Regions from separate parts of the Homo sapiens genome. Here regions 2, 3 and 4 are each linked to region 1. Evidence: promoter capture Hi-C in 16 types of primary human blood cells and fetal thymus (Javierre and others, 2016). All regions are on one chromosome and are shown on one strand. Each heading gives the region's core, a stretch centred on a gene start or on the middle of the fragment in contact. The rest is flanking DNA. Distances are from core to core; before and after follow the strand shown. Region 1 holds the start of GTPBP4 (GTP binding protein 4). Region 2 overlaps PFKP (phosphofructokinase, platelet). Region 3 overlaps PFKP (phosphofructokinase, platelet). Region 4 overlaps PFKP-DT (PFKP divergent transcript).

Region 1 (8,000 bases), core at 1,472-3,971:
TATGAGGGGCACGCCCAGTCTCCCCTCTGGGCCTACAAGTGAGACAAGTAAATGGGTGGTCACAACAGTCTGCCAAGTACTATAAGGGGCACACACTGTCTCCCCTCTGGGCCTACAAGTGAGACAAGTAAACGGGTGGTCACAACAGTCTGCCAAGTACTATGAGGGGCACACACGGTCTCCCCTCTGGGCCCACACAAGATCTTCTCTACGTTCTTCTGCACCTAATGCCGTTCGCACATCCTGAAGGGGGACCAAGTCAAAGGTTACCTACTTCATAAGGTTCCCCCTGACTCTCCAACTTACCACAGCTAACCACACTCTTCTCCTCTCCCAATCCATGTGTGTCCTCCATGATAACAATGTTTTATTTCTAGTATGGTCATACGAGATATGACTTACCCCACTTTTTTTTTTTTTTTTTTTTGAGATGGAGTCTTGCTCTGTTGCCCAGGCTGGAGTGCAGTGGCGCGATCTCGGTTCACTGCAAGCTCTGCCTCCTGGGTTCAGTTCACACCATTCTCCTGCCTCAGCCTCCCCAGCAGCTGGGACTACAGGCGCCCGCCACCACGCCTGGCTAATTTTTCTGTATTTTTAGTAGAGACGGGGTTTCACCGTGTTAGCCAGGATGGTCTCGATCTCCTGACCTCGTGATTTGCCCGCCTCAGCCTCCCAAAGTGCTGGGATTACAGGCGAGAGCCACCGCACCCGGCCTCGACTTACCTCTCTTGAAAATGACTTCCAAAGAGGCAGGTATTTTATCTAATGCATTTTTGTAACACAGTACCCGATGCACAGGACAGGCACTCACTCAACATCTTCTAGAATGAACTGAATACCACACTTTCCCGATGTGATTTTTTTTTTTTACTTCCAATCACCAAACAATTACCATCACCCAGTTTTTAGATAAGTCATCTGTTCTCTAAAAATATAAATCTCACTCCACAGAACAGAAGACGGATGGTGTATAATATATTCTAAAGTTCTCCACATAAGTCAATAACATGAACAAAGTTCATATAATCCAAAGAGCAAATTCCTTCAACAAACCTGAGAGATGGTTGACCAAAAATACAAATAAGACATGACTCCTGCACTCGAAAATACTACAATCTGGCTGGGCACAGTAGCTCATGCCTGTAATCCTAACACTTTGGGAGGCTGAGGCAAGTGAATCACTTGAGATTAGGAGTTCAAGACCAGTCTGGCCAACATGGTGAAACTCCACTTCTACTGAAAATACAAAAATTAGCCAGGCCTGGTGGCGCATGCCTGTAGTCCCAGCTACTCGGGAGGCTGAGGCAGGAAAATCACTTGAACCTGGGAGGCGGTGGCTGCAGTCAGGATCACACCACTGCGCTCCAACCTGGCCAACAGAGCGAGACTCCATCTCAAAAAGAAAGAAAGAAAATACTACAATCGATCAAGAGATGTGCCAGAACAACTGTCAGGAAGAAATAAGAAATGGTGGAGAGAAGTGGGGAAACAACTTTTGCTATGAAGGTAAAATACGAGACTCCCACAAAGCTTTCCAAGGCAAGCTCATCCCGTCCTTGAGACCTGAAGAAAAGGAGGCACTGACGAGGGGAAAACAGTCACTCTGCAGGGACTTCAGTAACTCCCTCTCGTGCAGGAGTCCCTGGGAGGCTCCAGTTGCCCGTCAATGTCTGTGTAATTGCGACCCAAATCGAATGTTCACTACATAAAAACGTGACTTCTTAAAAGTCCTAATACTAGGGCCGGGCGCAGTGGCTCACGCCTGTAATTCCAGCACTTTGGGAGGCCGGGGCGGGAGGATCACCCGGGATCAGGAGTTCGAGGCCAGCTTGGCCAACGTGGTGAAACCCCGTCTCTACTAAAAATACGAAAATTAGCTGGGTGTGGTGGTGCACGACTGTAATCCCTGTTACTCGGGAGGCTGAAGCAGGAGAATCGCTTGAACGCGGGAGGTGGAGGTTGCAGTGAGCCGAGACTGCGCTCCAGCCTGGGAAACAAGAGCGAAAAACTATGTCTCAAAAAAAAAAAAAAAAAAAAAAAGTCCTAATACTCAACACTTGTTGACTCATTCTTGCCACACCAACCAACGCTGTAAAAATTTAGTCTGGGCCTACTATGGTCTGAAAAGGAACAGGTATTCCCAAATCTAACAGTGAAAGAGAATGACTTAAAAATTATGAAACGTTAAATCACGAGAACAACGAACCCAGGATTCCTGAGAGGGGAGGGGGCTACGCCAAACCCAGAATCCGAAGGCTCATCACGGACCACGGAACGCTTCCTCCCTCACATGTCGGGGTCCCCCTCCACTCGCCCACATCGTCACCCGGGGCCCCTCCAGGGAACCCAACTCTGGGTGTACCCCCATCTCTGGGGGCCCTCAGTCTTTGGGTGGACCACGGTCTTAGGTGGACCCCGGTCTCTGGGGGATCCGATCTCTGGTGGACCCCGGATTCTGCTGGGGGAGGGGAAATGATCCCGAGTACGCGGCCAGACGGTCAGGCCCAGGAGCGGGGGATGGGCGAGCGGAAGGCGACCGCTCTCCCACGGCTACAGGCCCGGACCCTCCCCGGGGACCCAGCTGAGGAGAACGCGAAAGTTGCAGTGGCCCTCCCGGGGCCGCCTACCTTGGCGGACGGCACCACCGTAATTTTCTTGAAGTTGTAATGTGCCATGCCGGCAGCCGTATGCACGCGGGTACTTGGCACTCCCGGAACTTCCGCCGTCGGGCGCAGGTGGGACTTCCACTGTCGGGCGGTTGAGGTACGTCACTTCCGGGAGCTCAGCCAATCGTGTTCTGCGTGCTCTACGGCGCTTTCCGCGTCGCACAGCGCACCCGCCCGGCTTGGAGGTCAGCCACGGAGGGCGTGTGAGGGCCTCAGGAGCGAGGGTACAGAGGAGAGGACGCCCGGGTTTTAGGGGGAGCGCGGAGACTAAATTCCTGCTGAGTAAAGCGGGGGTTTCCGACAGACTGCCCTGCGGGTTTCTGGAGCGGGTTCAGGCCCCCAGCCACGCGCCCTGGGCCAGGGTTGGAGGGTCCGGGGTCTTGGGATTTGGGAGTTGCGGGGCTTAGGAGTCCAGAGGGTCTAGGGGATCCGGGAGTCTGGGGGTCCTGGGTCGCGGCGAGCCCCGCAAAGGAGGAGGAAGCCGCGCGTGCGGGGCGTGCCCAGCCTCTGGGTGTGGAGCAGATGACGCCCCTACCCCGGCCTCGCGCGTGGGACTTGATCCCGGGCCGTGGTGAGGAGGCCCTCGCGGCTTCCCTGCAGCCCTGCTTTCTCGTGCTTGTTAAATCCCAAAACGGGCGGAGAAGGGAAAGCCTGATCTAAGGCAAAAGAGGTGCAGCTGGTTCCGCGCAGTGCCTTAGGAGAGCCCAGGGAACAGTTGCGAGAGACAGTCCTGTGGGGTCCAACTGAGGAGAAGGTTGATGAGGATGGAGCCTTTACTGCTTTTATGTTTGTGAATAGAGTGGCCGCTCCCTTTGGGAACCCAGGGCCACATCCCTTAAATTAAACGTTAGGTAGGGCTGACTCAGTCAAGCAGTGTTCAGAGCTGCTGACTATATATTAACTCGTTTAATTTCTGCAACAGCCTCATGAAGTGCATGGGGAAACAAAGGCACACAAGGCTCGAAAGCACCCCGTGGTTGTGCAGCTGACAAGCTAACAGGCAGCAGAGGTGGGCTTTGAACCCAGGCAGCCTGGCTCCAGCAAACCTGCTTCTAACCATTAGCTATACTGCTTCTCACGCATCTGGGATGCCCCCCACTCTCCAATCCTTTTAAACAAGTCCTATTATTCTTACGCGAAAATACCTCTCATAAATTCCCAGCATTCCAATATTGAAAATCATTCTGGGTCATGCTTTTCTCATCTATTAACTATGCTTCCATTTTTGTGTCACAAGGCGGATAAGCATACCTCCTACATCTTTGTGGCACTTCTAAAGGAAGCTTCTAGGGTAATTAGGATTTGCTGGCTATGATCATTTGCTAAACCACAGGACAGTTCTGGCCACCATTTCCGAGATTAGCAAAGCTATGCTCATACTTATTGCCCTTTCTTTTAGGTTCTTGTATGTTTCCTCAACCTCTCCCACTTTCTCTCACTCTGATATAGCCAGTTCCTCTTTTTCTTGTAATCCGGTATTTAGATAAGTCCAGTCAATACTTTGCTTCAGATGGGCAAACATCCTTTCTTTAATTTTTTTTTTTTTTTTGAGACGGAATCTCACTCTGTCGCGCAGGCTGGAGCGCAGTGGCGCCATCTCAGCTCACTGCAACCTCCGCCTCCAGGGTTCAAGCCATTCTCCTGCCTCAGCCTCCCAAGTAGCTGGGATTACAGGCACCTGCCACCACTCCCGGCTAATATTTTGTATTTTTAGTAGAGACAGGGTTTTACCATATTAGCCAGGCTGGTCTCAAACCCTGACCTCAAGTGATCCACCCACCTTGGCCTCCCAAAGTGCAGAGATTACAGGCATGAGCCACCTGCTTTTAACTTGTTCAGCTACAAAGGCATGTCTGTGAATGCACAACCATAATGACTCATCATGGGCCCAGAGCTATAACAATGATAAGGTACCAAGCATCTTACACCATGTGCGTGTTGATGAGAATCAACATCCTTGCCTGTTCTTGTGATTTTGTGGCAGAGTATAGCTTCTTGGGGGCAAGTATGTATTCTACACCACTAGGAGCAAGCTTCTTTATCATACACTTCTGGGCTTCTCTGGGGAAGCCAAACTCTAAAGGCCTTTTCTGAGGAGTGTCGCAAATGCTGCCTGCAGTACGAGGCACATTGCCAGTTCCTGACTGCATTAGCAGGTTCCAGCTGCCAGGACGCCTCTGAGTGTGTACCTTGTGACAGAAAGGTACTTCTCAGCTGTAGTAAAGGATGCTCTCAAGGGTACTCTGCAAAGCTTCTGACTGCGAGGCACTTCTCAGTAAAAAGCTTTGTTTTTCAGACCTTTTTATTTTGTGGGTTTGGTCTTTTCTGTTTTACCTTCTCGTTGCTGTAATTCTGATGGATGAAAGGTACATTTTGCAGAACTGAACTTCCTGCCTGAAAGGAGCCTTTACATGGGGATTAGCCATCAGTAGGCATCCGGTCTTAGAGGGTCCTATGAGTGCTCCATTGGGCCCGTCGGCCACTTCCCTGGATCCCCACAGGAACTCATTCAGAACGAGTCACATGCTGCTTTGTACCTAGATGCTTCCTTGTGTACATCTTGTTTCCAAAAGAAGTAGCCAGCTCTTCGTGGACAGGAACTGTGTCTTACTTTTTTGCCATCCCTCACCTCAGGCAGCACTGCCAAGAGCATTCACAGTGACTGTGGAACTCCGTTGATTGAATGTTGGCTTGAGTAAGTTCCTGATGTAGGGGCTGTAGCGGTTGGAATCAAGCTTCTGCAATACTCAAGTAGTCCTACTGAATTACAGTACTGTCAGACCCCCTCTGCACAACCCTGAAGTGGGTCAGAACTCCACACTGTGCCATAAAGAGGAAAGCTGTCAACAGGGAGGTCTAAGGAAACACCTCCTTAGGTGGAAGGCAGCAATGGCATGAGAGCCACCCTCCGGGCCAAAGGTGCAGCCTGACATTCTCTGCAGAATTACACAGTGAGTTAAGACTGTGAGCTTCATTTCTGAGATACAGCTCCACCCGCTGTGATCCTGGGAAAATGTCTCAGCTTCCCCAAGCCTCTGTTTCTTCACTCTTTGCTCACTTACTATCTACCAGGCATGTTAAAAATACTTTATGTGAATTATTTTAGCTTTTCACTAACCCTATTCTACAGGCATTAATAAGTGAGCAAAGAGATTGTGTATTATTAATTATGCATTATGTATTATCTATGTTCTTATTAGCTGCTTAGTTACAATAATATTTGCTAAACTTTTGTTCTATTCATTAAATTATCGTTGAACCTTAACAACTGCAATGCAGGGAGCCTCCACCATGTGCCAGGTCACTTGCTTTCTTCTCGGGACAGCATAGTGAGGTGGGTGTGATTGTCTCTGTTTCACAGACAAGAGTGCTGGCTTTGAGGTGGTTGAGTGCTTGCTCACCGTCACACAGCTGGAGAGACACAATGAGGTGCGTTCAGGGCGCATGGAACTCCAAAGCCACTCTCCTTTTGCACTGCCAGCCGAGAGTGGCTTTGTTCTTGACCTCTGTAGAGTTATTACCTTGTTTGGTATTTGTTTGTTTGTTTATTTATTTATGAGACAGGGTCTCACTCTGTCGCCTAGGCTGGAGTGCAATGGTGTGATCTTGGCTCACTGCAACCTCCACCTCCCAGGTTTAAGCAATTCTCAGATTTAAGTGCCTCAGCCTCCCGAGTAGCTGGGACTACAGGTACATGCCACCACACCTGGCTACTTTTTGTATTTTTTAGTAGAGGGGAGATTTCGCCATGTTGTCCAGGCTGGTCATGAATTGTTTGGTATTTAAATGGAGGTACATGATGGATTGCACTTGGGGTCATATGCTGTCAATAATCCCCCAGCACCTGTGTTTCACTAAAGCACTGTTTGCATATGCAGACAGGTTGTGTTTCTTCTGTGAGAATTCCGTTCCTGTGCGTGGATCATGACAGGCACCTGTGCTAATGAACTTCTGCCCTTGCTCACGTCAGAGCTGCTGATAAGGGGTGTTTCTATGGGTTGAGTACGAGTCATTCTATTGACACACTGTTAAAAACATTCTTTGCATTCTGCTGTTCCATAAAGGAACAATTTTAGGTTTAATGGAAATCTTGCGATCTCTTTTCCTAGAGAAGATTTGTGATAATAATCATACACGTATTTGGAATGCATGTACTTATGCTTGTATGATCAATTTCCAAATGATTCTAAATATCTGCAGGCAGAATTTCTTAAGATTAGCATTCTGTGCTGTACCCAAAAAGATACTCGAGATAAGCAAAGACAAGTTTCATGTTGCAACAGACATCTGAATCCTTAGTGTTTCTGGAAGCTGGTTAAGCAGGTGGTTGTGATGTCTGACCCTCAGGTTAAAAACAGTGAAAAAAATTCACTTTGATGATGTGACGTCATTGTCACAAGTTTAATAATTGATTTTGAAGGTCTGCACAAGGAAACCATAATGCTTTAGCAATTTCCGTTTTCCAGAGGGAGGAGGCTTAAAATTTCAATTCCAGCCCTGCCACCAACTTCTAGACTAATAGTAAGCTAAGTGCCTTTCCTGCTATTATTTTTAATTAAAAACATATTATTTCCTCACAAAAGCATAGAAGTATAAAAATAATAGTATTCACTATCAGAATGTATGTGTCTGGACAGTCTAAATTATCCTGTGATAACAAATAGTCTCCAAATCTCAGCATCAGTTATTTCTCTCTGATGCTCCACGCCCACTGCTGTGGACCAAATTAAGTCTCCCCAAATTCATACGTGAAAGCCCTGTCTCCCAGTGTTAAGGTGTTTGGAGATGGAGCCTTGGGGAGGTAATTCGGTTCAGAAAAGGTCACGAGGCTGGAGCTCTCCTGATGGAATTAGCACACTTATGAGAAAAGACACCAGAGAGCTGCTCCCAGGCTTCCCCGACCCCATGCTTGCACCAAGGAGAGACCATGTGAGCACAGAGAGAAGGCGGCTTTCCACAAGCCAGGAAGAGGCTGCACCAGAACCCAACTATGCTGGTGTCCTGATCTGGACCTTCCAGTCTCCAAAACTGTGAAAAGAAAATTTTCTGTTGTTTAAGCCACTCAGTCTGGTATTTTGTTATGGCAGCCCAAGCTGGTTAAGATACTCACCATAGGTCAGCAGGGGCCTCTGTTCAGGATGGTCATTGAGGGAGCAGACTCCTGGAGTAAAGGTTGACAATAGCTATGCTGAGGAAAGGGGAATGAATTTGACAATTAAATGTTTCCGTCTCAGCTCCCATGGGCCTATTTCTGGACAGTGAGTTGAGAATAACAGAGTTATCTGTAAACAGTACTGATGCCTACTGCATTGGCATCTAAAGAAGATGCTCTTT
Region 2 (8,000 bases), core at 2,757-5,256, 2.1 Mb before region 1:
TGTGCTGTGCCAGACGGGATGAGGTGGACAAGCGGGAACCGTGAGGCCTGGCTGCTTCCAACGGGCAGCCTTCTCCATCCCCTACGAGGATGTTCACAAACCTGGGGACAGCTGCTTTGCCTCAATGCCGCCTCTCATCGAGTTGCTGTTAAACAATATGCTTCCCTGGTCATATTTAATATTGCACTGAAATTACATAACCGCTTCAAGGGAGAAAAACTACACTTTGGGAGGCCGAAGCGGGTGGATGACCTGAGGTCAGGAGTTCGAGACCAGCCTGGCCAACATGGCGAAACCCTATCTCTACTAAAAATAAAAAATAAATAAAAAAATTTTAAAAAAGCTGGGTGTGGTGGCGCATGCCTGTAATCCCAGCTGCTTGGGAGGCTGAGGCAGGAGAATTGCTTGAACCCAGGAGGCAGATGTTGCAGTGAGCCGAGATCGTGCCACTGCACTCCAGCCTGGGCAATGGAGAAAGACTCTGTCTCAAAACAAACAAAATCAAACAATCAAACAAAACAAAAATAAACCACATACACACAGGGCTCTCAGAAACGCTTTCCTAAGTAGTGCCAAAGTTGGTACTGGATGATGTATTGGCAGAGATTTATCGTCTAAATAAATTAAAGTCCTGTGGCAACTTCAGTTTTTTTTTTTTTTTTTTTTTTTGAGACAGAGTCTCGCTCTGTCGCCCAGGCTGGAGTGCAGTGGCGGGACCTCGGCTCACTGCAAGCTCCGCCTCCCGGGTTCACGCCATTCTCCTGCCTCAGCCTCCCAAGTAGCTGGGACTACAGGCGCCCGCCACTACGCCCGGCTAATTTTTTGTATTTTTAGTAGAGACGGGGTTTCACCGTTTTAGCCGGGATGGTCTCGATCTCCTGACCTCGTGATCCGCCCGCCTCGGCCTCCCAAAGTGCTGGGATTACAGGCGTGAGCCACCGCGCCCGGCCCAACTTCAGTTTTAAAGGACCCCAGCGAGCTGGAGGGACACAGTGTGAGGGCTGAAAGGCGGATGCTAGTGTCCCAGGCTGCTGGGGACCCGGCTCGCCCCACGGCTGAGTGGCCGTTTGATTCCTCATCTGTAAATGGGATGATCTAAAACCTGGCTTAGATGGCTGTCGTGAGGATTCCATAAAGCTATCTGTGTGAAAGGTCGAAGGGTGCCTGGCACATGGTAAGGTTAAATTACTAGCATTCTTACGATCATTGCTGTTGTTTTTTGAGATCCTAAAAAGTCCTGAGATGGTGACCTGTAAGATCTGTGAGAAGAGGTACTTCTGCCACAGTGAAGAGGGAAACCTGTCGGTTCCAAAGCTCTGAAACAGGGCGAAAACCCGCAGGACAGAGGAGCAGGTGTCCACTCACCGTTCCTGGCCAGCTCCTCCAGCAGCCCACTCCACTCCTTCCGGAAGAGGTTGGCCCCGGTGAGGCTCCCGTCCCCGCCGATCACACACAGGTTGGTGATGCCGCGCTGCAGCAGGTTGCAAGCAGCCTTCAGGCGGCCTTCCCGCGTGCGGAAGGCCTGGCACCGCGCACTGCCAATGATCGTCCCGCCCTGGGAAAGACACCAGCTAATTTATCTCCTCTCAGTCTGAGAGAGCGCCAGGTGGATGGCACACACAGGCCGACTATAAACATGGGGTGCTAGAATTTACATTTTTCTCATTTTCATCTTGTGAGTTAGTAACTAGCTATGAAAGACTGTGATTTTCCTGTTTTTAGTCCCAGACCAGCATTCCATGGACAAAGACAGGCGCGTGACACCCAGGAGGAGCCAGGGAGGGTGCAGAGCCAGACACACGGCAGCCAGCAGTTAAATACATGGAGCAGGAACCAGCCTGCGGTGTCACAGCAGCCGCCTCAGCACCGGCCAACGAGCTCAACCAGGTGCACGTGGAACCAAAGACAAGCCCACTGACCACCAGAGCATGCCGGCCAGGACAAGGGAAGCGGTGTGACCAGCAGCCAGGCTTCTCCCTCCAGTCACCCCTTACAGCACCTGCAAGTAAAACCAGCAGGAACCTGGGGCCAGGGGGATTTTTTTTTTTTTTTTTTTTGCACCACATACTCGCTGCCCCTTTTAAAGAGCTATATCTTCAGGATCTTAAATTCTTTCATCCAAACTTCCAGGGGACATAGATCATGATTCGTCACACTTGGTTTTCCAAAAACTAAGAATTGTTGGTGGGATCCACAAATGCAAGATTTCTTTAAATAAAACCATGAATGCACCAAAAAACTCCATCCGTACGGGATCCCTAAGCGCGTGCTGACTTTGTCAAGCAAGGTGCTCATAAGCACAGCAGGGGTTGTCTCTGCACTGGAGGCGAAGCTCTCCCTGCCTTCGGTCTGCAGGCAGCTCCCAGGAGACCCCTGCAGTGACGTGAGTGCGTGTTTCGATACACCAATGGTGCACGCACACAGCTCATTTTCACACACAGAGACTCACTAATATTCCAAATCCCAGAAAAGCTCCTATTTTTACATGAAACCTACCACCATTTAATTTATCAAAACATTATGAAAAGGTTACAAAAACTGAAATTCACTCCACACGATCCTACGTCACTGGCACCAAGTGTGACCGAGACCATTTACAACCCAACCCCCAAGGCAAGTGAGGGTGGGGGCGCAGAGCAGGGCAGGGGTGCTCTCTGGACTCTGCCTGGACAAAAACCTGGGGGGCAGCACGAGAGCCAGCACAATGGGAGCTAGAGCCAGCAACCCAGAAACTCCAACCAAAGAGACGAGGTGGCCGCAACTCAGGAACGAAACCAGGATAACTGGGCTGCAGAGGAGTGGGTGCCATTCCCATTCTCTCACTCACTCTCTTTCACACACACACACACACACACACACACACCACACACCTACACATACAAGGACACCACATATACACACACCCCACACACAGATACACATTCGCTAGCCAGAAATTCACACAGTTAACACATACACACGGGCACACCACACATACACACTCAGACTCACACACCTACATACAGACACACACCAGACTCACACAGTTACACACACACCGAGATTCACACACCACATACACCACACACAGAAACACAGACTCACTGATACACATACGCACTTCAACTCTCCGTTCACATCTTATCTTCCTCCGTCAATCACGACCGCAGAATGGAAACGCTCCCCTGTGTGAATTCAGCCCACACTCTCCTGATGTTTTGCAAACGTTGCTCCACCTAACTTCCGTGGTTGTCAAAATTCCCTCCACCTCTCTTCTGATGTGTCGGAGCTCAGGAGGCGCCCAATGCAGAGAGAGCCTGGACCAGCACGAAGGTGTGGGCCCCATGAGCGTCTTCAGCGGGGAGGCACCGATTTGGATTATTTCTATTAACAAGTACTCAAAGTGACTCACAGATTAACACATGCATTTCTAAAAATCAAACCACAAGTAAAGAGCTGCTCACAAAGTCTGTTCTGTCCACATAATCTCTATTTCGCAACTGATCTGAGCTCAAGTGTTCTGGGAATTTACTAGACATAAAAGAGTCTCTAACTCAGAGAACCCTGTGGACGCAGCCCAGTACCTACCACTTGCAGGATGCTGGAGACACTCTCCCAGTCGGCCTCTGCGATGTTTGAGCCTCCGTCCACCATGCCCTGGTAGCCCTAGGGGAGAAAGGGAGAATCTTTTAAAAATGAGATAAACTTCACTAAATGGGAAGTGATCCTTAAATTATATAAAACGGGAAAAATGACAGTGAATGTCAGTTCCTCAGCATCCACTGGTCAGAAGACAGGGCAGTTCCAGCACTGGATAAAAGCAGTGAATTGTGGGAAAGTCCTCACCTTGAGTCCCTAGTAATGGGAACGTCTGCCTAGACTCAGCCTCACAGTGCAATGAGGAATCAAGCCATTCTCCTATGGCCCAGCGTTTCCCGAGAGGTTGAAAGGGTCGTGTTTCGCTAGAGGTTGAAAGGGGTCACTTTCACCCAACGTGTTTATCATACTTCAGCACAAACTCACAGGCACACAGCACTGTCGAGCACGGGACATACATGGGAGCATTTTGTCAGGGGCTCCGCCTGCCAAGGCACCCTGCGCCACTTGGGATGTATGTTGAATATTATTAAACAGCACAGCTGAATAATAATTGTCTGCCTTACCCTCCATTAATGACACGGTGCTGCATTAGGGAATCAGATATCAATATGTGAGGACACATTGATAGAAGAAGCCCAAGGACAATTACCTTTTTTTTTTTTTTTTTTGAGACGGAGTCTCACTCTGTCACCCAGGCTGGAGTGCAGTGGCGCGATCTCGGCTCACTGCAACCTGCCTCCCGGGTTGAAGTGATTCTCCTGCCTCAGCCTCCTGAGCAGCTGGGATTACAGGTGCCTGCCACTGCACCTGGCTAATTTTTGTAGCTTTTAGTAGAGACGGGGCTTCACCTTGTTGGCCATGCTGGTCTCAAACTCCTGACCTCATGATCCGCCTGCCTCAGCCTCCCAAAGTGCTGGAATTACAGGCGTGAGCCACCGCGCCTGGCCAACAATTACCTTTCAATGCTAAATGCATCCCCATCTTTTTCTCCACGGAATATACAAGATCAGGAAATGCAGCAATGCCCACGGGTAACTTCATCTACATAACTCACTTTCCACAGCATTTAATCTTAAGAAGGAATAACTATTAAGGATTTAGAAAAGTTCATGATAGATTATTGTTGGATCCATAAGCCCACCTTAGTGAAGGTCCGGAGGACAGAAAAAAGAAAGGTTTTTAAAATTGAAATGACTCATAGATTATGGAGTTCTATATATAAATTAATCAATAGTGCAGGCACCTTGATAGCTGGCCAATTTGTATACTTATATTTATAAATTTCTACCAGAAATATTATATATATATGTGTGTTTATTTTATTTTATTTTTGAGACAGAGTCTTGCTCTGTTGCCCAGGCTGGAGTGCAGTGGCACGATCTCGGCTCACTGCAACTTACATCTCCCAGGTTCAAGCAATTCTCCTGCCTCAGCCTCCAGAGTACTTGGGATTACAGGAACACACTACCACATCTGGCTAATTTTGTTTTTGTTTTAAAGTAGTGACAGGGTTTCACCATGTTGGCCAGGCTGGTTTCCAACTCTTGACCTCAAGTGATCTGCCTGCCTGGGCCTCCCAAAGTGCTGGGATTACAGGCGTGAGCCACCATGCCTGGCCACATGTGTGTTTATAATTTAGTGTCATACATGTAATAAACAAGAAAGGAGAAAACAGTCTGGAATGGAACAGAACCCAAAACAGAGCTGGTTCATTTCAGCGCTGGCAGCCCCGTCTGCACCTCCCGAGACCCCCCAGGCACCCAGGCCCTGGCTCACAGGCTGGTACAGGGACTGCCCATCACCAGGCCCCCTACCTCCATGGCAAAACAGCAGAACATCTTCTAAACACAGCCCAGTCTCACTCTAGGGATTATTATTATTATTATTGTCTCCCCTTGCTCTGAAAACAGATTTCCCTTGCAGTGCAGATGAGCCCAGTGTAGCCGTCCCCCGGAGGGCGAGGGTGAGCAAGTGTGAGGTCGGATGCAGACCTCGCCTCTGCACAGGGCACCCTGGGAGGCACCGTTTATGTTCTGTCCTGCTGCGGATGCTCTGTCCACACAAGGACTCACTGGTAACAGACGGTCATGTGCAAAGCCATGAATGACTCTTGGAGGCCATAATCCTCAGAATATTGTAAGTACAATAGGTAGGTAGGCGGGTGGGTGGATACATAAATAAAGAGATAACCTAGCCTTGGGGTTGCAGTTTCAGTGATCTCTACCACCCCAAACTCCCAGGTTTTTTTGTTTTTTGTTTTTTTGAGACGGAGTCTCGCTGTGTCACCCAGGCTGGAGTGCAGTGGCGTGATCTTGGCTCATTGCAAGCTCCGCCTCCCGGGTTCCTGCCATTCTCCCACCTCAGCCTCCTTAGTAGCTGGGACTACAGGCACCCGCCACCACGCCCGGCTAATTTTTTGTATTTTTAGTAGAGACGGGGTTTCACCGTGTTAGCCAGGATGGTCTCGATCTCCTGACCTCGTGATCCGCCCGCCTCGGACTCCCAAAGTGCTGGGATTACAGGCATGAGCCGCCGCACCCGGCCTCCCAGGTTTCTGCTAAGAATTATGCTTCATTCTGCAAGCACAACAGAGCGCTCCATTCTTCAGGTCTGGGAGCAACACTGAACAAACTGCCATCTGCAGTGATCCTGACTTTCCAGATTGACTTCCATGAAGCTCGGGGGGGCAAGGAAACAAGGAAGCAGGCATGTAGCCTGGGCCACCGTGAAACGGACCCTTCTTAGAGGCACGACCTCCCATCCTCCAAGCCCACATCTCAGGAGGAGAGAAAAGATGACCCATGATGGGGCCTGAACTGCAGCAGAAACCGGGACCTCCCTGAGAGGACTGGGATGTAGAGCGGCCGTAAACCTGGGGCTCCGGCAAAACTGAAACAGACAGTTCCTACATTCCCACACCCAGAGCTGTTGCGGTCATTTCTGTGCATGCAGTTTTTTGGTAAATAAAGAGACCGGGGGGAAGGTGCCAGTTCCGGCCGCCACCCTGCTGAAGAGGATGCCAAGGCCGCTGCAGCATCCTGAGGCCGTCTCAGGCCCAGGAGTCAACCATGCACCCCTAACGGCATCAGCTTTCAGAGTATTCCTGGAGCACGCGCTATCCCGGACGCTGCTTCCAAGTCAACCGCCACCCAGCATTTTACTAGTTAATATGCCATAGTGGGAACCATACAATTTCCTTTCCCTGCATGAGTTCACAGAATTTAAATACGGATTTAATCAAACATGTTAACGAATCCTCTTGCTTCTGGAGTAGTAAGAAAACTGCTCTGCAAACCACAACATTTTGAAAAGTAAAATGTTCTCTGAAAGTAATTTCATTATTTTGTGTTGCATAGATGCATGTGGCAAAGAAAGCCATTAAAAAATAGAAAGGGAGGGCTTTCTGAGTGCCACCTCCAATGCTCCCTGTCTAGTGCATGCGTGAGCTAAGTTGCTAGGAAATGACTCATTCTTTAATTTGCAAAGTCACGACGCCCATGGAACATGTGAAAAGCAACTACCAGCCGCAGTTCTAAGCCGTCTTTCACCAACAAGGAAGATATTACTAAATTAGGAAGACTCATTTTGCCCAAACGTACTACAACGTAGAAATTCAGATGAGTTTTCTCTTTTGAAGTCTTCTTAGAAGGCTGAATATTTATCTTACTACAGCCAAAGCCCAGACGTTTCCTAAAACACCCTTTTGGAATTTGCCTTCCAAGCCAGTTTTATGACTCACATAGGAAAAACAGAGCATAAAACCTTTAACCTTATCTCAGTTTTTTGGCCAAAGTAACATTCTCTGTCTTGTTGACTCTGACTCACAAGATGAACCTTAGAGCTCCTCGTTGGCTGTATCGGATCCATCGTCGGACAGAATTTTTTACGTTGAGTCATTCGATCACATCTAAGAACATGCCACAGGCTCTGAAGTCATTTCAACTTATTCGAAATTGTTTTGAGCTGTGTCAAAATAACCAGCCTTCTAACCATGTAGGAGATCATTCTATATGTAGAGGTGGTTTTGACTAGAATTTTTAGGCAATCGCCGAATCCATCATAAATGGAGTAAGCTAGTTCACCTATGCGCGTAGTTCACCTATGGGTGGCTTTCTCGGACGTCTCATATGTAAGTTTTTTTTTTTAAAGTTACAGACAAAGGGAAATTATACCGTTGTGTTGCAGCAGTAGGCTTTTTCTTTCAGAATGCTTGTTGCATGGGTCCATGTGTCTTCTCAACTGGATAATGCTTTTTTCCAATCTGATTTCCTGAATTCTTCACTCAACTAACTCCAAATGGTGAACATTCCAACTACCAGAATAAAACAAGCTCCTAGAGATAACAGACTTTAAAAGTGCCTTCCAGATAGTGTTATCACCAGCTTCCTGCAGACATAGTTACTGCATCCAGAGATGTAGGG
Region 3 (8,000 bases), core at 1,605-4,104, 2.1 Mb before region 1:
TGGGGGAGCTGAAGCCACTAGTGTCTCGGAACCACCTCTGGGCCTGGAGGGTCTGTCTTGCTGTCGTGGCTAACAAGCTCAGGCCCATCGGGAGAGGAGTGAAAAGGCACGAGGGCCGCACCCACAGCCATGCAGCGCTGCTGCTTAAGGATGAGGAACACCTGAGCCTTCAGTGCCTTTGCTCCCAAACACACCTGAGAGCACCAAGCTTCCTCCTCTGCAAAGTTAAGTTTCAGAAACAGCTGTCAGAACTAAAGATGCTGCAGTTCGTGGGCCATGAAGCCAGTGATGTTTCCAGTCAATAAACCACAAATGAAAGGACTGTGGTCCTGCAGGGGCATCTGTGACAGAGGCAGGCTATGTGCACTTGGACGGTGACCGGCTCAGAAGATGCTTAGAAAAATCTTCAATTACATTGGGCCAGGTCAGCGATGCTGGAGTCACCATTGCCTCTGAAAGTTGACAATTCTGAATGAGAGTATCTATTTGGCTGAAAAACCTTGGGGATACATATTTTAGAGGTAAATGCATGTTTACTATGTATCTAACATGTATGTATATGTATGTGTGTATATATATATTACATAGTCTTATTTACTTTATATTCAAACCTAGCTTATAACACAAAGAATTCGAATGACCTACTGATTAACTAGTGGCCATCTCTCAAGAACATCAAACTCAGCATTTCAAAATGCAGGTCATCTCACCCTGATCATTTCCTCCTCCCGCTGTAACCTCTCTCTTGCCGAACAGCACAACTTTCTTCTCTGTCTCTGGCGCTGAATGCTGCTAACACCCTTGCTGGCTCCTGCCCATACAACCAACACCTGCTCCCAACATTACCCCCGACTCCCTGACTCCCTCTGACATGAGCCACACTGTGGCCAGAAGGATTACAACAGCTTTTTCTCTTTCATTTGCTTTTATGCAAATAATTTATGAATATATTCTTCTTGTTTAGAAAAAAAACAAATGAAGTAACAGCCACAAGAGCCCCACCCCGTTGGAGAGCTGGGTATGGGGACGGTGCCTTGCTGTTGGGCTGTGCGAGTTTCACACTTGTTATTTCTTTCTACACTTTGACACTACGTCCGAGATGTTTTCCATACCAGTTTCAATATTCTCTTTTTTTTTTTTTTTTTTTTTTTTGAGACGGAGTCTCGCTCTGTCTCCCAGGCTGGAGTGCAGTGGTGCAATCTCGGCTCACTGCAAGCTCCGCCTCCCAGGTTCACGCCATTCTCCTGCCTCAGCCTCCTGAGCAGCTGGGACTACAGGCGCCCGCCACCACGCCTGGCTAATTTTTTGTATTTTTAGTAGAGACGGGGTTTCACCGTGTTAGCCAGGATGGTCTCCATCTCCTGACCTTGTGATCCATCCGCCTCAGCCTCCCAAAGTGCTGAGATTACAGGCTTGAGCCACTGCACCCGGCAATGTTCTCTTCTAAAGCACGAATATGACCGCGTTCCTCCAGGTTCCCAGGGCTACTGGAAGAAAACCCAAGTTCCCCTGAGCTCCCGGCCATGCCCCAGGGACCTCCCACCTGTCTGGCAGCACTCGGAGGCTCCTGTTCCTGAACCTTGGTAGCAGTCCCACCAGTGCTCTTGCTCGGACGCTCTTCCTCCTCCAACTCCTCCTCGGCTCTGGCACCTCCCAGGAAAAGGGCCTGGCTTGCCTCCCACCTGATTCCATTTATTCGTGGCAGGACAGAGCCTCCCACCTGATTCCATTTATTCCTGGCAGGACAGAGCCTCCCGCCCCCTTGGCCTCACACCTGTGGAAGGTCCTCGCTCATCTCTCCCATGGCTGGGCTCAGCAGTGCCTGGACTCTTCAACTCGAAGGGTGGACGCACAGCTCTGGTTCCAGGACCTTACGCTATGGTCACTCTAATGGATGAATTACCCATCAAACACAGCCCGTGCCAACACTAGGAAGCAGGTGATGCAGGAGCACAACTAAGACCCAATGGCGGCCCCTCACCCCTGCTCCTCTTCCCCCCCCCCCCACCCCGCTCTCTGAAGACCTCGTTCCCACCGGTCTTTCATAAAGGAATGATGAAGAACTCGGGGATTTTAGGAAATGTTAAGTGGAAAGACATAGAAGAAGGAATAAAATTCTTAAAAGCTGGACATGAGGCTGGGCACGGTGGCTCACGCCTGTAATCCCAGTGCTTTGGGAGGCCTAGGTGGGCAGATCACGAGGTCAGGAGATCGAGACCATCCTGGCTAACATGGTGAAACCCCGTCTCTACTAAAAATACAAAAAATTAGCCAGGCGTGGTGGCGGGCACCTGTAGTCCCAGCTACTCGGGAGGCTGAGGCAGGAGAATGGCGTGAACCCGGGAGGTGGAGCTTGCAGTGAGCTGAGATCATGCCACTGCACTCCAGCCTGGGCGACAGAGCGAGACTCTGTCTCAGAAAAAAAAAGCTGGACATGATACACAAGGTGACCCCAGGAGACTCCTGTGCAGAGTAAAAATGCACCCCAGCACTAAACTCAATCGCTGAAGTCCCTGCTGGATTCTCCCCACCCCCACTCCGGGTTCACCTGCACCCACCTGGAAAGAACAGTGACACCACCCCACAGCAGGAGCTCACCATCAGCGGCCGCAGCACCCCCATGTAGCTGGGCTGCCCCCGGGTTTCACAGGTGGAGAGGGAGCCTGGGAACTTGCATTTCTAGCAATTTCCAGGTGATGGGGGCACCACACTTTTAAAGAGACACAATTCTAGGTCCTGAAAGGACTTCTATTAATTTATGCATTGGTAGGATGGAGCCATGCATTGCAAAGGGCTTTTATTCATGTGTCCTCCTTGAGCTCAGGGACTGGCAGCACTCGGTGGGGCCCAGTAGGACGTCCCTTGCTGACTGCAGACCCACAGCCAGAGCCCTGGCCTGGATGTTTCTCACAGGAAGCCTGCAGAGCTCCTGACACCTCCCTGGAGGGATGAGAAAGCTGAGGCTCTTAGGGGGATAAACTGATTACTGGAAGGTAACAACATTAGTAAGCGGTGAAGCTGTAGTGTAAACCCTAGTCTTATTTCATTTTAACTTTCAAGCCTTCCTAATTTCCTCTATTACAATGCCTGTGCCTCAGAGTCACCAATGGGAACTTGAAGGAAAATAATACCTGCTGAGGCCAGATGCTCATTTAATTGCCTGGGAGTGGAGACTGTTTAGTTCTAAGCCCTCCCTCTGAACTTCTGAACAGTGAGGACTGCAAGTCAGCTGCCTCCTGCTGGGCCCTGCAAGATGAAACCTGAGGAAGCCCCAGGAACATTCAGTGAGGGGTTTGGAGGGAGAAGAACACTGGTGGATGAAAAGCAAGGGGGAAATATACCAGCATTTACTGGCGGGCTGTCACCCACAGGACAGGGACGAAGACGTGCACACCTGCAATGCAGGCAGACGTGCACACCTGCAATGAGGGCTTTCACAGCCCGCAACGTGGGCTTTTGGCGTCACAGGTAAAAGTCACCTGTTTCACCATTTCCTTAGGGCTGTCCGTGGGCCCTGGCACACAGCCATTAAGGGACAAAGGGCAGTTTCAGAGTCTTTCACTCAACACTCAAGCCACAGATTGTCCAAATAGCTCAGGCATCCTGGGGCTAATCCATCTGGTTTTGTTTTGGTTTTGGGAGCCCAACCCAAGGATTTCCAGGAGAAAATAACATCTTCCTACCAAAGAAGAACCTTAACATTTGGAAAAACACCGCTTCGTAATTTGCAAAAATCCCAGTTTTCAGGGAAGTGAATATCTTGTCATGAGAACCAAAAATAAAGTTGGAGATAATGAGGGAGCGGTTTCATAGGAAAGATCTGGTCATTACTCTGACCAATTATTAAATCGCTTTCTTCATATGCCGTACTTTTTAACAGCTTCTTACTAAACCACAATGCAGGTAAGAGAGTCACAGGACGGTTTCTTCCTTGAGTCAGAGTCATCCTTGGCCTACACCAGGGCCTAGCAAGCATGACTTAAGTCACCCTTATTTCCTGGCTACTTGGAGGAGCTGGATTTCCCAGTTTACAAATCTCAGTTTCCTGGGATTCTGCTCTGATAAAATCTAAATTGCATTTTTTTTTTAAAAAGTAAGGAATAGGCCAGGCACGATGCCTCATGCCTGTAATCCCAGCACTTTGGGAGGCCAAGGTGGGCGGATCACGAGGTCAGGAGATCGAGACCATCCTGGCTAACAGGGTGAAACCCCATCTCTACTAAAAATACAAAAAAAAAAATTAGCCGGGCATGGTGGTGAGCGCCTGCAGTCCCAGCTACTTGGGAGGCTGAGGCAGGAGAATCGCTTGAACCCGGGAGGTGGAGGTTGCAGTGAGCCGAGATTGCGCCACTACACTCCAGCCTGGTGACAGAGTGAGATTCCATCTCAAAAAAAAAAAAAAAAAAAGAAAAAAAAAAAGTAAAGAATAGATGAACTCTAATGAAATAATCTGGGTCTATCTTTTACCTCCTCCATTGTCTGGAGTAATAAAGCTCCCTGCCTCGCCCTCTCTCACAGCACTGAGCCACTTTTCCTGAATTTTCCCACACTCCTGATCACTCACTTGTTAATTTCAATGCATAAATTCTTTTTGAGAAATAAAGTCAGTTTGCCGACTCCTCCCGCTGCTTTGTTAGAAAATGAGCTTACACCGCGCTGATCTCACTACTGCTGCCAAAGTTCCTTCTAGGGGTCTTTCCTTTGATAATGTAGGGATTATGTAGGCATGGGGAGGTGGGATGCCAAAGGCAGATTCTGTCAAGGTGCTGTTCCCTCCCCACCCCTGCCAGTTCAAAGTCATCGAACTGGGGGGCCTCTCTGACCTCCTGGACTGTGCAGACCACCGTGTCTTCTAGTAGGGTCAGGGGAGGGCTTGAGATAAATCTGTAGGGCTCTTCACTCAACCACCAACCCACTGTCCAGCTCGGGTGCCCCAAGTGCCACCTCTGCTGGGCTCTGTGTGGATGCATCAGTGACAAGATGGGAAGCCTCTGGCCCTGGAAGAGCTTGTTCCGATCAGGAGAGACCCGAAAGCAAGAAACACAGTGAACAAATGCATGATGCCCATGGATGGATGGCCGTAAGTGCTAAGGAGAAAAATAACAAGCGGGGTGGGGGGTGTTGAGGGTGTGGAGGACAGGGAGGGGCTGCCATTGACAATCGGAGAGCCTGCAGACCTGCCTGAGAGTGACGTTTGGAGAAAGAAGGAAAGGGAAGAAGTTGAGGGAGTTTAGCCAAATGGACATCTGGGAAAGAGCTCAGGTAGCAGAGGGGCTGGGGCGGGGGCGCGGCGGCAGCATGCTGCATTCCAGGGTCCTCTGCGTGGCTGGGACAGTGTCGGCCCTCCCCTGCACATCCCTCAGAGCCTTCGCAAAAACACCCACATGGGGACCTTCTAAATACAGGCAGCACACGCCACCCATTGCGTGACCACACTGTCCCTCAGAGGAGCCGCTGGCCACGTGCGTCCCGTCCACATGGAGATGTGCTTTAAGCTTCTTTACACACTGGGTTTCAAAGACTTACTACGGAAAACAGTGTAAAATATGAATAATCTACAATAATTGATTGTTATCAAAATAGTGGATTGAATATAAAACATAGTTTTTTGCTTTTACCGGTTTTTACTTTTTTTTTTTTTTTTTTTTTTTGAGACGGAGTCTCGCTCTGTCGCCCAGGCCGGACTGCGGACTGCAGTGGCGCGATCTCGGCTCACTGCAAGCTCCGCTTCCCGGGTTCACTACTTTTTTTTTTTTTTTTTTTTGCGATAGGGTCTCACTCTGTTGCCCAGGCTGGAGTGAACTGGTGCAGTCACAGCTCACTGCGGCCTCCAACTCCTGGGCTCAGGCAATCCTCCCACCTCAATCTCCCACGGGGCTGGGACTGTAGGTGTGCACCGCCACGCCTGACTAATTGTTTTGTATTTTTTGTAGAGACTAGGTCTTGCCATGTTGCCCAGGCTGGCCTCAAACTCCTGGGCTCAAGTGATCCACCTGCCTTGGGCTCCTGAAGGGCTGGGATTACAGATGTTGAGTCTTGGCACCCAGAGTCCCCCACTCCCGGCCCCCTGCCCCGCCTTTCTTTAATGCGGCAACTAGATCATTTAAAATTGCATATATAACACAGGCCACCCACATGCAAGCCTCACTCTTGGGAGATTCTCCCGTTGGAGAAACCTCCAAGAAGCTGATCTGCCTGGATTTGCAAACTGCCCCACTGGCTCCAGAGGGAAGCCGCTCTGGAATCGGCTCTTCAATACTGCCCTTGAGTATACTGTGTACCTCTTGACTTTCGACCAGCACAAAGCTCCTTATTAAACGCTGACAAAAATTCCTTCCATTCTGTTGGGAGCAGGCCCCCCCAAATCTGGCCATAAACTGACCCTAAAACTGGCCATAAACAAAATCTCTGCAGCACTGTGACACGTTCATAACGGCCCTAACGCCCAGGCTGGAAGGTTGTGGGTTTATGGGAATGAGGGCAAGGAGCACCTGGCCCACCCAGGGTGGAAAACTGCTTAAAGGCATTCTTAAGCCACAAGCAGTAGCATGAGATATGTGCCTTAAGGACATGCTCCTGCTGCAGTTAACTAGCCCAACCTATTCCTTTAATTTGGCCCATCCCTTCATTTCCCATAAGGGATACTTTTAGTTAATTTGATATCTGTAGAAACAATGCTGATGACTGGCTTGCTGTTAATAAACACGTGGGTAAATCTCTGTTCTGGGCTCTCGGCTCTGAAGGCTGTGAGACCACGGATTTCCCACTTCACACCTCTATTTGTGTGTGTGTGTCTTTAATTCCTCTAGCGCCGCTGGGTTACGGTCTCCCCGACTGAGCTGGTCTCGGCACATTCCAGGTGCCATAATGGAATTAATTAATCTCCTATTGATAGTTTTTTGCTGGTTTTCCCACTTTTTGCTATTCTAAGCACTGCTATGAAGATTCTCCTTTAACCCCCACCTGCCTGTGTCTGTTGGAGCTCACATGCTCTACCTTCCAGCTGTAACAGCTGAGTGCCCATTCACCCCAAGCCCTGACACACTCAAGTCTCTGGGTCCCCTTGGCGGGATGTGTCTGTGGACACAGGGCTGCCCTGCCACGTGCCCCACCCCATAACCTTCCATCTGTGGCCTGCTCCTTGTGATACCCTAAACTTGTGGCCTCCCCTCCCCTCCTCTCCTCTCCACAAAGCCACCCTTATCGGAGACAGTCAGTCTGCTTCCCTCCACCTGCTTCCCAGTTCACCCAAGGCAAAGCCAAAGTCCTCCACTGGGCCACTCTCCTCTACGGACTCCTCCCTCACTGTCAGGTCAGGTCAAAGGGCCCCAACCAGAGGTTCCCCTGGGCCCTTTCATAAGACAGGAGCTTTTCCTCTCAGGTCAGGCTACAGGCACGTCGTACCCGCACCTCACCACAGGAGTGACAGCTCCAGGCAGAAAGGGCCTGGTTCTTTTGCCAAAATCCTGTCCTGACTCACCCAAGGCAGTCTGTTAACATGCACAATGATTACAGAAACACAGAAATAAGGCTGGGTGCAGTGGCTCCAGCCTGTAATACCAGCACTTTGGGAGGCCAAGGCAGGTGGATCACTTGAGGTCAGGAGTTCGAGACCAGCCTGACCAACACGGTGAAACCCATCTCTACTAACGATACAAAAAAGATCAGGTGAGCATGGTGGCGCATGCCTGTAATCCCAGCTACTTGGGAGGCTGGGACAGGAAAATCGCTTGAACTCAGGAGGCGGAGGTTGCAGTGAGCCGACATCAAGCCACTGCACTCCAGGCTGGGCAAGAGGGCAAGATCCCGTCTCAAAAACAAACAAACAAACAAACAAAAAAAACACACACACACACAGAAATAAAATCTTAATCGTAGTAAGACACAGCTGAAAAGATATGAAGGACTGACTCCCCGAGGCTACTGCATGCCACCCTTTCAATCATTTTCCATTCAGGAAACTTCGGATCAGATCATTTACATATGTACGTTTAGACAAG
Region 4 (8,000 bases), core at 3,943-6,442, 2.1 Mb before region 1:
AGGCGTTCCTTCCTCTTTTACTAATCCTCCTCAGCACAGACCATTTACGGGTGTCGGGCTGGGGGACGGTCAGGTCTTTCCCTTCCCACGAGGCCATATTTCAGACTATAACATGGGGAGAAACCTTGGACAATGCCTGGCTTTCCTAGGCAGAGGTCCCTGTGGCTTTCCGCAGTGCTTTATGTCTCTGGGTACTTGAGATTAGGGAGTGGTTTGAGATTAGGGCGTGGTGATGACTCTTAACAAGCAAGCTGCCTTCAAGTATGTGTTTAACAAAGCACACCCTGCACAGCCCTTAATCCATTTAACCCTGAGTTGACACAGCATGTGTTTCAGGGAGCACAGGGTTGGGGGTAGGATTACAGATTAACAGCATCTCAAGGCAGAAGAATTTTTCTTAGTACAGAACAAAATGGAGTCTCTTATGTCTACATCTTTCTACACAGACACAGTAATAGTCTGGTCTCTCTTTCTTTTCCCCACAGTGAATGAGTGAGTGAATGAGTGATCGAGTGAGTGAGTCAATGGGTTAGTGAATGAATGAGTGATTGAGTGAGTCAATGGGTTAGTGAGTGAATGAGTGATTGAGTGAGTGAATGAGTGATTGAGTGAGTCAATGGGTTAGTGAGTGAATGAGTGATTGAGGGAGTGAGTCAATGGGTTAGTGAGTGAATGAGTGATTGAGGGAGTGAGTCAATGGGTTAGTGAGTGAATGAGTGATTGAGTAAGTCAATGGGTTAGTGAGTGAATGAGTGATTGAGTGAGTGAGTCAATGGGTTAGTGATGAATGAGTGATTGAGTGACTGAATGGGTTAGTGAATGAGTGAATGAGTGAGTGAATGAGTGATCGAGTGAGTGAGTCAATGGGTTAGTGAATGAATGAGTGATTGAGTGAGTCAATGGGTTAGTGAGTGAATGAGTGAGTGAGTCAATGGGTTAGTGAGTGAATGAGTGATTGAGGGAGTGAGTCAATGGGTTAATGAGTGAATGAGTGATTGAGTGAGTGAATGAGTGATTGAGTGAGTGAGTCAATGGGTTAGTGATGAATGAGTGAATGAGTGACTGAATGGGTTAGTGAATGAGTGAATGAGTGAGTGAATTGGTTAATGAGTGAATGACTGAGTGAAAGTGAATGAATGAGTGATTGAGTAAAAGGGGGTGAATGAGTAAATGAGTAATGAGTGAGTGAGTGAATGAGTGAGTGACCGAATGAGTGAGTGAATGAATGAGTGAGTGAATGAATGAGTGAGTGAATGAGTGAGCGGGTCGCTCAGAGGAGGTGAGGACCGGAGCTGCCCTCTGACTGCTTCAGGAGACAGGAGCTGAGGGAGGAGCCTGAAGGGTGGGTAGGAGGTGCCCACTCAGTACTTATACCCTGCCTGACACATCCCCAGAGAAACCCAATCTCACCAGAGTGGTCTCTTGAGAATTATCAGTAACAACCTTTTTTCCCAGTATTTCATATATTCAGGGTGATTTCTTACTTTCCTTTAAAATGCCAATTGCTTTTCGGACTTGGAATTCTCCACTGTTGCTCCACGCCACTGTATCTCCCATAGGGGCGTCCCCCGTCATTCCCAGGAATGGATAAAAGCCAGAAGGGCGGCATCAGGTGGGGCCCCTTCTCCTATCATCCTCCCCTTCCTGCTTGCGTTACCCTAAGTGACTTGTTTTGGAAGTCTACAAAACGCAGACACATCAAATTTGGATAAAAGCGTAAGCAATTTAAGAGGTTGCAGTGCTAGCGGGAAGGTCTTTGGCTGCCGGCACCCTCCTCCCCTCCAGACCCTGCTGGACCCAGGACTCTGACTCTGCCTTCGGCCTTGGGGGTTTCATTCCTTCTTTCCTTGCCAGCCACTGAGCTGCCTTGGGCTAATCTGCAACCACAGAGGGGCAACCATCCTCCTTTCCTCTTGCCTCTTCCTCCCTTCTTCTCACTTTCCTTCTGCTTCTTTCGGGACTTTGGAAAGTTCAAGAATAAGCAAAACTGTAGATCAGAAAACGCTGCCTTCAGCCTATTCTCCTCCCACCAGCTTCCCTGCAGATTCTTTGATCTTTAAAAAGTATTTTGCTTTGTATCTAGATGCTAAACTTTATATAGAAAACAGGTGGGGTTGGTTTCTCGGCCGGGTACAGTGGCTCACACCTATAATCCCAGAGCTTTGGAGGCCAAGGCAGGAGGATTGCTTGAGGTCAGATGTTTGAGACTAGCCTGGGCAACATAGGGAGACCTCGTCTCTACAAAATCCAAAAAAATTAGCCTGGAGCGATGGCACACCTGTAGTCCCAGCTACTTGGGAGGCTGAGGCAGGAGGATCACTTGAACTCAGGAGTTTGAGATTACAGTGAGCTATGATTACATCACTGCACTCCAGCTTGAGCAACAGAGTGAGACACTATCTCCCAAAAAAGTAAAAATAAAAAGTGCTGGAGTCCATATCGAAGCCCACAGCCAATTGTGACATGTGAATCTTTTATTTTTATAATCTGCCTCTCTTGTCTAAGTGCCAAATGATGCTCACATTGTGTGTAACTACTTCCACCTTTGTCTGGCTTCTTTTTCCTTAAGTATGCAGAATCAGGTTGCATAGAGTTCTGAGAAAATAAAATAAATCCGCTGTGTGCTGTGGCTCATGTCTATAACCTCAGCACTTTGGGAGGCTGACACAAGGATTGCTTGAGACCAGGAGTTTGAGGTCAGCCTCGGCCACATAACGAGATCCTGTCTCTATAATAAATAAATAAATAAATAAATAAATAAAACATTAGCAGGACATGGTGGCACAGCTGTTGTCCCAGCTACTCAGGTGGTGGAGGCCTGAGGATTGCTTGAGCCTGGGAGGTTGAGACTGCAGTGAGCCGTGATCATACTACTACACTTTGGCCTGGGTGAAACAGTGACACTCTATTTCTAAAAAAATAAAGTAAAAATAAAAACAGTTGGAAGCTTCCCAAGACTTTGATGCAGAAACAGGTTGCCCTGAACCAATTAAAATTAATATCTAAAAACTGGAAAGAAAGGAAAGAAAGAAGTTTGCATTATTTCTGTAAAGTATGATGCCATTACAAGTTTTACTTTCTCTGGGACATTTTCTCAGTGGTGTCAACTGAAGTCCACTTCACAGAATGACTTCATCTCCTGAGCACTTTGGAGAACGACGATTAAAGAGACTTCCTGGCACTCCTGATACTTTTAGTGTCATATGGAAGCAGCAAGAGTCATATGTGTTAAATCCGTGGTATTAAAGCAGAAGACATTGGTTTGTTCTTTCATGAACATTGTCAGAGCATTTCCCTAATGACTAGCGTTATGTCAGAAAATGGGGGGAGAGAGATGGTTCTTTATTGGCAAATAAGTTACATAAATTTCCCAGTTAGAAAAACAATCATGATTTTAGCCATGTCAGATGAGGTCAGAGATGCCCTATGCCTCAGTTATGGAATGCTAAATCTGAATATTGGTTGACAGGTATCTTCCACGGACCTGTGACCTGTCGCTGTGTACAAGCTTGAATTCCTAACTACGAGTCCTTGAAGCTCCCTTGCTGCCTGAGCGGAACTGAAATGGCTCCCGGCTGAGGCATTCAAGGGAAAACTCACTGAAATATTTGAAACTACCACCATGAACAAGAATGCTCTTCCAGTGTGCCAGGATGTACACCCAGAGCATTATCCTCATTAGTTGTATATGCCAGCATCCGGCAGGCGCTTTTATCTTCTTTGGGTGTCAACTTTGAGATTCTTATGTAAGCTGCGACCTCTTCCTCTGCCTGCAAGCACATCCACCCACAACCACGTGTTGCCTGGTTTAGAGCCTGCGGCTGGGTCCACCTGCAGGAGGAGGAGTGACTGGTGCAGTGAAGCTCAGACCAGGTACAGGATCAGAGCTGCGGTCACACGTCCGGGGCAGACAGCTCTGCATTCTTGGGAGGGCCCAGGTACCCTCTTCTCTTGGAAGGCCAAGCCCAGAGCCTAGGTGGTCTTTGAACCCAAATAGACTTTGTAGTCCAGGGAATGGGAGCCTCGCTCACCAGGGGAAGAAATTAGGGATCTTGGTCCTGAGTTTGTGGGGTAGACTTTGCCATTTTCCTCCCCCTTTCCCGGCCATGCCCTGTTTGAAAAGAGGTCACTTCCATTTCAGTGAGCCAAGATCGAGCCACTGCACTCCAGCCTGGGCAACAGAGTGAGACCCTGTCTCAAGGAAAAAAAAAAAAGAAAAGAAAAGAGGTCACTTCAAAACTTCCCTGTTCAAACAGTTGACCCTTGAACAGCAGGGTTTGAACCGCATGGGTCACTTACTTACACATGGATTTTTTTCACTTCTGCCACCCCTTAGACAGCAAGACCAACCCCTCCTCCTTTCCTTCCACATCCTCCTCCTCTGCCTACTCAATGCAAAGGTGAGGAGAAGAACCTCTATGATGAGGCACTTAATGAATAGTCAACACATTTTCCTTAGGATTGCTTTATTTCCTCTAGCTTACTTTACTGTAAGAATACACTATACAATACATATAACATACAAAATTTGTGTTAACCAATTATCTGCGTGATCACTGAGGCTTTTACCCAAGAATAGGCTATTCTTGGGTAACGGTCAATCCGTTTTTGGGTAGTCAAAAGTTATTGGCTGAATTTCGACTGTGTGGCGGGTTGGTGCCCCTAATCTCTGCATTGTTCAAGGATCAATTGTATTGCTTAAGAGGTGGTCATTGGAACACTCCTTAGGGGCTGACTATTTTTTTGTTTAAAAAAGTTTTTGCCACAGTGGGCCGCTCGTTTAAGGCCCTAAGATTCCTCACCTCTGAGCTCCTGCTACCATAGACCAAGTGCTGATCATTTTTGTTGCTCAACATACTTGTCTCTTCCATCTGCCACAGGACCCACTCTCACCTTCCAGGAACTGCTCCTTCCACTGCCTGTGGACCTGAGGGTCAGCGTGTCCAGCCAGGCCAAGTAGGGAGATCAGTCCTCTCCTGTGCCCCAGTTCATGGATGGGCACAGGATGTGGGTGGTGGGGGTGGTCCACCCGCTTCCTGCTAATCCCACTGGATCATCAGGTGGGGAGAGTCAGCTTGCATAGTGAAACCAGAGAGCTGCGAGATGGAGAGTGGGAGTGAGAAACCAACAGAGTGAGACACACACACACACACACACACACACAAAGAGGGAGAGTGAGAGAGAGAGAGAGGGTCAGAGAAGCAGAGACACAGACAGACATAGAAAGATGGAGTAAGAGATGAGGGGAAGAGAGAAACAGAGACAAACACAGAGTCTTAAAAAGAGACAGAGAGAGACAGAGCAACCAGGAGAGAGAGAGAGAGGGAGAAACAGAGACAGGCAAAGTGAGAGGCAGAGAGAGATGGAAAGAGAGATGGGGAGAAAGGCAGAGAGAAGCAAAAGCACAACGTTCCTTGAATTGCTTCTCCCTGAGGTCACCATTCTATTTCTGCACTTCCAATCACCACCAGGAATCTTTCTAAGTCACCTGTCCTCCTTCCTTCCCTGTCTTCCCCACGCACTCTTACTAAAGCCTCCTGAAATCTGCCCTCCCAATGACAACTCCTCCTTGAAATGTCACCACTGACTTCCAAACAAGCAGCAAATAAAAAAGGTTTTTAAAACACTGACTTCTACCAGTTTCTAGTTTTTCTAAAGGTTATGGTGCTGTTTCTTAATACCTCTCTCGAACATCTTTCTCTTTGTTTTTTTTGCATGAATTAACATGAAAATAGAGCACAACATATTATAGTGAATATAGACTATAAATGATGTTTTGTGCATACTTTATTACTAGTGATAAACACTGTATAAGTAATTTATTTTTGCCATTTCCTACTTACTATGGTTTGAAAGTGTCCCCCAAATTTCACGTGTTGGAAACTGAACCCCTCATGCAGTAGTGCTGAGGGGACGGATATTTAAGAGGTGATCAGGTCATGAGGGTTTCACCCTCATGAGTGGATTAATGTTTTTTGTTTGTTTGTTTGCTTTTTTTTTTTGAGATGGAGTCTCGCTCTGTTGCCCAGGCTGGAGTGTAGTGGTGCAATCTCAGCTCACTGCAAACTCCGCCTTCTGGGTTCACACCATTCTCCTGCCTCAGCTTCTAGAGGAGCTGGGACTACAAGTGCTCACCACCACGCCCGGCTAATTTTTTTGTATTTTTAGTAGAGGCGGGGTTTCACCGTGTTAGCCAGGATGGTCTTGATCTCCTGACCTCGTGATCTGCCCACCTCGGCCTTCCAAAGTGCTGGGATTACAGGCGTGAGCCACCACGCCCGGCCGGATTAATGTTGTTATTGGGGGAGTGGGTTCATTATCACAAGAGTGGGTCTGTTACAAAAGTGAGTTTGACCCCTCTTACTCCCTCATGCTCTCTTGCCCTCCCACCTTCCCGTGGGATGACACAGCACAAAGGTCCTTGCCAGATCACCCTTTAACCTTGTACTTCCCACCTCCAGGACTGTGAGAAGTGAATCTCTGTTTTTGTAAATTACCCAGTCTCAGGTACTCTGTTAAGGGAAGCAGAAAACAGGCTAAGACAAAATGTTTTAGTATCCTCTTCTCTCACAGTTGCAGTGAGAAGTTTATACTTTGTTTTGCTTTGTGGCAGATGAAGTGCTAAATAATAGGCATAATTTTGAAGGTTTCTCCTTCTATCCTAATATTTGATCCATTTAAAAGTTTCTATTACACTGAGTTGTTGACCCTTGCTTCTGATGCCTCAGAGATGTCTGGAAGAAAATCACGGAGGAAACCTCAAGTGCCATGTAGTCTGTCTTATCTAAGTGCCCTCTGGACTTCGAGAAGGCTCTTTCTGAGAACCAGGGAGCTAAGGATGTAGCCCAACTCAAGATACTTTCCTGGAAAAGCTTTCAGAACATAGCCATTCCCTGGGAGCATCACAGCTTTTAGACTTCACAACAGGCACCAGAGAGCAGTCAGAAGGCCATGGAATATTTCACCTGAATTCCTTCCAGCATTGTGTTCCAGGAAGCTAGAAACTTCCTCCCCCTCCATGTGGGTCTTAGGTTTCTCTTTCCAAACAAAAACAGACTTGTTTTTGAATTATCTCCAAGAAGACAAGGTCTTAGCATTATACATAATTGAATTGTAAATCTTCTAAATTTAGAAAGAAACAGTATGGAAATAATTCAGAAGCCCTTGAGTTTTTAGCTAGAAGACTCTGCAGTGGTGGGGGGACTCTTTGTATCCTGAAAATTCCCGGCATGCTTCTTCCACAACGATCCTTGCTTGTGTCTCTCTCCAAGCACGTCTGTGAATAACCCACTCATCCTTCCAAGCTCAACTAAAACACCATGTGACAGAAACAGTTGGTTCAACATCCATTTCCTCCTCCTCTTCTGACTGAGGCTCTGCGCTAAATGCTTCATTCCCCAGCTGTCTTTGTGCACGCATGTGGTCATGTGGGTCCATTCTGGCCCATGTGATTTAAGTAGAATTGTTGAGCACGACTTTCAAAAGGACTCCTTAAAAGGAGTTCAACTACTGAGTATGGCTTTTTTTTTTTTTTCTTTTTCCTGCTGCTTTGAATGCAGCTGTGATTGCAGGAACAAAGCTGCTATCTTGGGGCATGAGGTGATCTAGAAGATACAACCACCTTCAGTCAAAGTGCCTGAGGGAATGACAGGAGAAGCTGGGCTCTCTGATAAGATCACAGATCCAGTGCACAGGGGAGGATTGCCTCCCTTCAGATTCCTTTCATGTGAAAGGACAGACCTTTCTATGTGTAAGCCTCTGTTAGCTTGAGTCTTCCATTTTATGCAGCCAAACTTAACCCTAACTGACACACATCATCTGCTTATATTTTTGTGATGCTGTCTCTAATCTCTTAGGTAACTGTGTCCTCCCAGAAACCTATGGAGAGCTGAAGGGGTTTTAGGATTGTGGAATCCACCCTCCTCGTTTGGTAAAAGAGGACAAAGGCCACAGAGCAGTGCGCTGGCTGAGGCATGCGATTGTAAACCAAAAGGTACCTG

Evidence for each region. The method cuts DNA at HindIII sites, captures the fragments that hold promoters and counts their contacts. A CHiCAGO score of 5 or more calls a contact.
Region 2: a contact is called between a fragment that was not itself captured here and the fragment with the promoter of GTPBP4 in region 1, in 2 of 17 cell types (erythroblasts and M1 macrophages). The highest score is 10.6, in erythroblasts.
Region 3: a fragment that was not itself captured here is called in contact with the fragment with the promoter of GTPBP4 in region 1 in 1 of 17 cell types (M2 macrophages); the score reaches 5.1 in M2 macrophages.
Region 4: a contact is called between a fragment that was not itself captured here and the fragment with the promoter of GTPBP4 in region 1, in 1 of 17 cell types (endothelial precursors). The highest score is 7.6, in endothelial precursors.

Annotation. Positions count from the first base shown.
Region 1 is chr10:983,155-991,154 of GRCh38, reverse strand. GTPBP4 (GTP binding protein 4) reads right to left here and starts at 2,721. Exons shown (of 17, transcript NM_012341.3): 1 at 2,628-2,721. The coding sequence starts at 2,675. It also overlaps a transcript of LARP4B not described here. RefSeq lists an enhancer at 79-974. The HindIII fragment of the contact is 2,419 bases long and covers 1,533-3,951 here.
Region 2 is chr10:3,094,920-3,102,919 of GRCh38, reverse strand. PFKP (phosphofructokinase, platelet) reads right to left here. Exons shown (of 22, transcript NM_002627.5): 3 at 3,568-3,645; 4 at 1,366-1,555. Among named protein-coding and RNA genes, the nearest start is that of PFKP, 31 kb to the right of the region's middle. RefSeq lists an enhancer at 6,570-7,769. The HindIII fragment of the contact is 8,096 bases long and covers 1-8,000 here.
Region 3 is chr10:3,073,669-3,081,668 of GRCh38, reverse strand. The region is part of intron 1 of PFKP (phosphofructokinase, platelet); the gene reads right to left. Among named protein-coding and RNA genes, the nearest start is that of PFKP, 10 kb to the right of the region's middle. RefSeq lists enhancers at 2,995-3,930, 4,384-4,947, 4,948-5,512, 7,719-8,000. The HindIII fragment of the contact is 5,287 bases long and covers 211-5,497 here.
Region 4 is chr10:3,053,953-3,061,952 of GRCh38, reverse strand. It overlaps PFKP-DT (PFKP divergent transcript), which reads left to right. Exons shown (of 4, transcript NR_160681.1): 2 at 3,470-3,873; 3 at 7,857-7,993. Among named protein-coding and RNA genes, the nearest start is that of PFKP-DT, 9.0 kb to the left of the region's middle. The HindIII fragment of the contact is 3,364 bases long and covers 3,511-6,874 here.